Regions from separate parts of the Homo sapiens genome. Here region 1 is linked to region 2. The links are contacts of gene promoters, found by promoter capture Hi-C in human tissues and cell types (Jung and others, 2019). All regions are on one chromosome and are shown on one strand. Each heading gives the region's core, a stretch centred on a gene start or on the middle of the fragment in contact. The rest is flanking DNA. Distances are from core to core; before and after follow the strand shown.

Region 1 (2,822 bases), core at 67-2,566, 59 kb after region 2:
AGTCAAACCCAGAAGGAAGTGAGCGAGCAAGCCAAGTGGGAACCTGGAGAAGACGGAGGTGGCAGTGCAGACTGGCATGTTCCTGGAACTGCAAAGAGGTGGTATGAGTGAGGGGAAGGCCAGTAGGAGGTGAGGTCAGACGTATTGAGTTCTGGGGGTTTGGGGAGAGAGTGACAGTTGCAAACAAGCTTGAAGGACATTTTGCTCTAAGTGAGATGGAGGTCAAGGACTTGGAGCAGAAAAGATACATGATTATATGTTTTGGCAGGATCATTCTAGCAGCTGGGCAAGGAACATGCTGAGGGGGAATAAGGGCAGAAGTAGGCATTACTTAGTGATGTTTGTTCAAGAAACATCTGTTGCGCTCCTATATGCCAAGCACTGCGTAGGTGATAAGGATTAAACGGGAGCACACTCTTCTTCCCTCTGGTAGGTTACTGTAACAACTACTCCCACCTCTGTCATTTATGAGTATTTACCCAGTCCCAAGCTCTGGGGTGAGCACACCCGTCCATTATTGCATTTATTCCTCTCAGCAAACTGTAAGGTAACAACCTCAGGATATCCTCATTTTACAGTTGAAGAAACTGAGGCTTAGAGAGGTTATGTAACATATCGTAGACCACATAGATACTAGGTAGACAGCCAAGATTTAAACCCAGGACTGTCTCACTCCAAAGCCTGCAATACTAACCACAATGCTGTTGCTGGAAACTTTTTCTTACGCTGGACTTTGAAAGTTCACCTAAGACAGCATGAGAAGTGATGGTATCTTCCAGGCAGCCACCTGGGCCACCAGCCCTCCCCTCCTTGGGATCTGCCTTCCCACTTTGTCTGAATTGAGGGTCCAACACTGCTCCTCGGACACAAGGTCCAGGTGGGGAGAGAACAGAGTCCAGCCCAGCCAAGGCAAGTCACCTGGGCTCTCTGGAACCCGGACTGCTTTGCTGTAGAGTAAAGTCCTGGAATAGGTCTCTAACCCTCTTTCCAGCTCTGAAATCCAAGGCGTATGTGATCTGAGGTAATAATTGTCTTGCCTCTCATGCTTGGTTTTTGATGAGACCTTCACATTCTTTAATAAACATTTATCTGTATCCAGGAATTATAGGAGATACAAAATGCCGAGGAATGCACTACTCATGATCTTTTTTGATCCTTTTAACAATCCAGAGACATGGGCTGTGTAAAGCCACAGTGCAAAATACAATTAGGAAAACACAGCAATAAGACCACTGTAGCTTTGAATGGTGCTGTTCACTAATTATTACCTCCCCACCCATTTTCTCATCTGACCCTCACAGCAGCCCCATGAGGTCGACAGGGTGAGGACATTATCCCCATATCACAGATGGGAAAACTGCAGCCCAGGGAGCTATGCGATTTCTCCCGAGGTCCTCCTCACACTAGTGTAGTGGAGCCGCTATGTTTATTGACCCCAAATCCAAGTCAACCCAACAGTCTCTAGAACGTTCCAATTACCTGGCCAGTCCTCACTTAGATAACATCGGACTCTTTCAGAAAAGATTAAACAAATCCTCTATTTGTTGACAGAGGTTTTGCTGAACTGGCCCTGGGGATCCGAATTGATCATGGCCATCAACACAGGCAGCAAAGACCCTTCAGAAGTGTTTTATTCACTAGCCACCTCCATCCCCCAACCCTCCATCGTCTAAAGTGTCTCCTGACTCAGTTCTGTCCCCCTGCTTGTCCTCTTCTCCTATTAGCTCTGGGTACCCAGTCCAGATCATAGCCCCAAGCTCTGTCATCATTTTGCAGCCTCCAGCCTCCCCCACCCAACTCAGCAGAGCCCTGAGAAGAAAGTCCTGGGTCCCGGAGGCTGCACCTGCAGACACAACAGATTCTGCAATGGTGAGAGCATATAGGGTATTTTGGGTCTCCAGTGGGGTTTTTGCTGATTCTGTGCCTGACCAGGGCACATGCTTCCTGGAATTAATAATTCTAGATAAAGAAGCCTAGCAGATGCCCACCTATGGAAAATGCTTCTTAAACAAGAAGAATCTCAGAATTAGGAGGCCAGCTTCTTGTTCTCAGCACTGCCCCTAACTAGCTGTGGGGCCTCGGACACGTCACTTGATGCCTCTGGTCCTGTTTTCTTCTGTACATTATGGAGGATTTGGACAGAGATGATCAGTAAGGTCCCTTCTAGCCAGACTGTCAAGGTTCAAATCCTAGCTCTGCCACATTCCAGCTGTGTGATCTTGGACAAGTTACTTTATCTTTCCTAAGCCTCAGTATCCCCAACTATAAAATGGGCACAATAGCACCTATCTCATATGGCTGTTGTGAGGACCCAAAGATACAATGAATGTCAGCCCTCAGCACAGGGCCTGGCACAGAGACAGTACTCAGCTAAGTAACTGTTTCTAAGTTGTTTATGATTTGAAGCTAAGGATAGAGATGCTTATTCTGAGAAGCAGAAAGGAACAGATGGAGAAGGAAAAAGGAAGATGGGACAAAAGGAGAAAAACTGGCCAGGTGCGGTGGCTCACACCTGTAATCCTAGCACTTTGGGAGGCCGAGGCTGGCGGATTGCCTGAAGTCAGGAGTTCGAGACCAGCCTGGGTAATATGGTGAAGCCCTGTCTCTACTAAAAATGCAAAACTTAGCTGGGCATAGTGGTGGACACCTGTAATCCCAACTACTCAGGAGGCTGAGGCAGGAGAATAGCTTGAACCCAGGAGGTGGCAGTTGCAGTGAGCCGAGATCGCACCACTGCACTCCAGCCTGGGCGACAGAGTGACACTCCATCTCAAAAAAAAAAAAAAAAAAAAAAAGGAGAAAAATTAGGGAAAATAGGGCAA
Region 2 (2,824 bases), core at 292-2,791:
TACTATTCAGCCATAAAAAATGAATGGGATCCTGTCTGTCTTTGCAACAACATAGTTGGAACTGGAGGTTATTACGTGAAGTGAAATAAGCCAGGCACAGAAAGACAAACTTCACACATCCTCACTTATTTGTGGGAGCCTAAATGGAAACAATTGAACTCATGGAGACAGAGAGTAGAGGGATGGTTACCAGAGGCCAGGAAGGGTAGTGGGGGGACTTGCAGGGGAGGAGTGGGGATGGTTAATGGGTACAAAAAATAGTTAGAATAAGACCTAGTATTTCATAGCACAACAGGGTGACTATAGCCAATAATAATTTAAGTGTACATTTAAAATAACTAAAAGTATAATTGGATTGTTTGTAACACAAAGGATAAATGCTTGAGGCAATGGATACCCCATTTACCCTGATATGACTATTATGCATTGTATGCCTGTAGCAAAATATCTCATGTACCCCATAAATGTATACACCTACTATGTACCCACAAAAATTAAAAATTTTAAAATAAGTAAATAAAAAGTTTTTTAAAGGTCTTGAACTTTCGGGCTTCTGCCTAACTTTACTACTAGTGTAAGTGGGCCCCTTGAGATTTCAGCACCCCAGCATTTGTTAGTGACTGAAATAATGAAAATTCTGATCAGGCCCTTGCTTGCACATGTTGACAACTCTCTTTTTGCCCAATATCCCTTGTTCCTACAACATAATCATAAACTGCTGATGTACTGTTTCTTTATCAAGCAGGAGGAGATAATAACTTCAGGGTTACGAAAAAGTTTGCAGGAGGAATAAGTCCTTTGAAGTACTTTGAGGCCAGCTTCTGTCGCCCAGAAGTCTGATTGTTCAAGGAATTATCTGAGACTGAAGAAACACAGACTTTTTCCCTCGATTCCCTGAAACTCCCCCTCCCTGACTCGCTGGCCGCATAAACACTCTCTGCTTCTTCTTTTTGTTAGGGCGGATTTGAGAGATCTTGCCCTCCCGCCTTCTCGCTTTGGCCAAATCGAATAAACTTTTATCTCCAAGCACCTATATGTCAGTGTTTGGCATCAGCTACACATGGGGTACACGAGCCTGAGTCTGGGCTTCTACAACGCTGGGACCCTCGCTGTTCTTTGGAGCTGATGGTAAATTCAACAGAAAAGAGGCGCATGGGTAGAAAATGCAGCATTTCCTCTCAGATGCCAGATATTCATCTCCAAAGGTATTAAAAGGAGGGGGTGTGTGCCTGTGTAAAGAGGCTGGTCTTTTCCTAGCAGTACGATTTGGGCAAGTTGCTTGATTTCTTCAAGCCTTTCTTTTTCCGCCTGTCAAACAAAACAAAACAAATATCCCGTTTAGGACAAATTCACAATCCTTAAAGAGGGCAGGCAGAGCGATTGGAATGCAGATGAACCAATCCCTTCTCCTGCAGGTTGCGGAGCTGCAGAGGGACCCCGCCCCCTGCATTGTGCTTAGCTCTGATTGGCGCCTCGCGGAGGGGGCGGGGCCTGGGCGCGCCGAGCTCCGGCTGGGTCCCTGCAGGTCTTGGGGCCCGGGACTCTTCCTGGAGACACCGCCATGGCCGGGCTATCCCGCGGGTCCGCGCGCGCACTGCTCGCCGCCCTGCTGGCGTCGACGCTGTTGGCGCTGCTCGTGTCGCCCGCGCGGGGTCGCGGCGGCCGGGACCACGGGGACTGGGACGAGGCCTCCCGGCTGCCGCCGCTACCACCCCGCGAGGACGCGGCGCGCGTGGCCCGCTTCGTGACGCACGTCTCCGACTGGGGCGCTCTGGCCACCATCTCCACGCTGGAGGCGGTGCGCGGCCGGCCCTTCGCCGACGTCCTCTCGCTCAGCGACGGGCCCCCGGGCGCGGGCAGCGGCGTGCCCTATTTCTACCTGAGCCCGCTGCAGCTCTCCGTGAGCAACCTGCAGGTGAGCTGGGGCCCGCGGCTTCCCCAGGCGGGCTGTGGGCGGGGCGGCCACAGAGCGAGCCTTCACTCTCCCCAGAATTCTTCCCGGGAAGTGGAGCGTGGCTCGAACGGCTGTTGCTTCTCTGCCGCGCAGGCAGGTAGGTGGGCGTTGCAGCGTCCCAGATGTTGGGCAGCTGGGTACCAGGAATTTCCCACAAGCCTCCGCCACTGGGCCACGCACCTGGGGTAAATTCTCTGCCAGCAGCCCGAGGACTTCTCATCCGTGAGTGGTTCTCAGTCGTCTTGGGGCCCAGTGTCTCTATTAACTGTGCTCCTATTCTCTTTTTTTTTTTTTTTCCCTTTGAGACAGAATCTCACTTTGTGGCCCAGGCTGGAGTGCAGTGGCGCTATCTCAGCTTACTGCAACCTCTGCCTCCCAGGTTCAAGCGATTCTCGTGCCTCAGCCTACCGAGTAGCTGGGATTACAGGTGCGTGCCACCACACCCGGCTAATTTTTGTATTTTTAGTAGAGGCGGGGTTTCACCATGTTGGCCAGGCTGGTCTCAAACTCCTGACCTCACGTGATCCACCCATCTCAGCCTCCCAAAGTGCTGGGATTACAGGCGTGAACCACCGCGCCCTGCCTGGGCTCCTATTCTTAAAGGTTTTACAGGGCATAGAGATTGTTAGGTACTTAAGCACTTTAATATGTGACTTCAGGGTTTCTCACTCTCTTACCCTTCCTGAATTAAGCTTTTCCCTCCTGCAGCAAGACGCTAACGTACAATATCATGGACGATTACAATGATTACTGCAGTCTTTAGGCCTCCACAGGCATAGTGGCTCCTCAGTAAGATGCAGAGCTGATTGAAGGTGTATCTCTTCCTCGCCCTTTGCCCACCTTCTGGTGCAGGGCCACACTTACAACTCT

The links. The method cuts DNA at HindIII sites, captures the fragments that hold promoters and counts their contacts. A contact is called where the count stands out against the background at its distance.
Region 1: a contact is called between a fragment that was not itself captured here and the fragment with the promoter of CREG1 in region 2, in 1 of the 25 tissues and cell types used here (adrenal gland).

What each region holds. Positions count from the first base shown.
Region 1 is chr1:167,493,011-167,495,832 of GRCh38, reverse strand. The region is part of intron 1 of CD247 (CD247 molecule); the gene reads left to right. Among named protein-coding and RNA genes, the nearest start is that of CD247, 24 kb to the left of the region's middle. The HindIII fragment of the contact is 6,253 bases long and covers 1-2,822 here.
Region 2 is chr1:167,552,479-167,555,302 of GRCh38, reverse strand. CREG1 (cellular repressor of E1A stimulated genes 1) reads left to right here and starts at 1,541. Exons shown (of 4, transcript NM_003851.3): 1 at 1,541-1,915. The coding sequence starts at 1,562. RefSeq lists a silencer at 1,403-1,852. The HindIII fragment of the contact is 6,052 bases long and covers 1-2,824 here.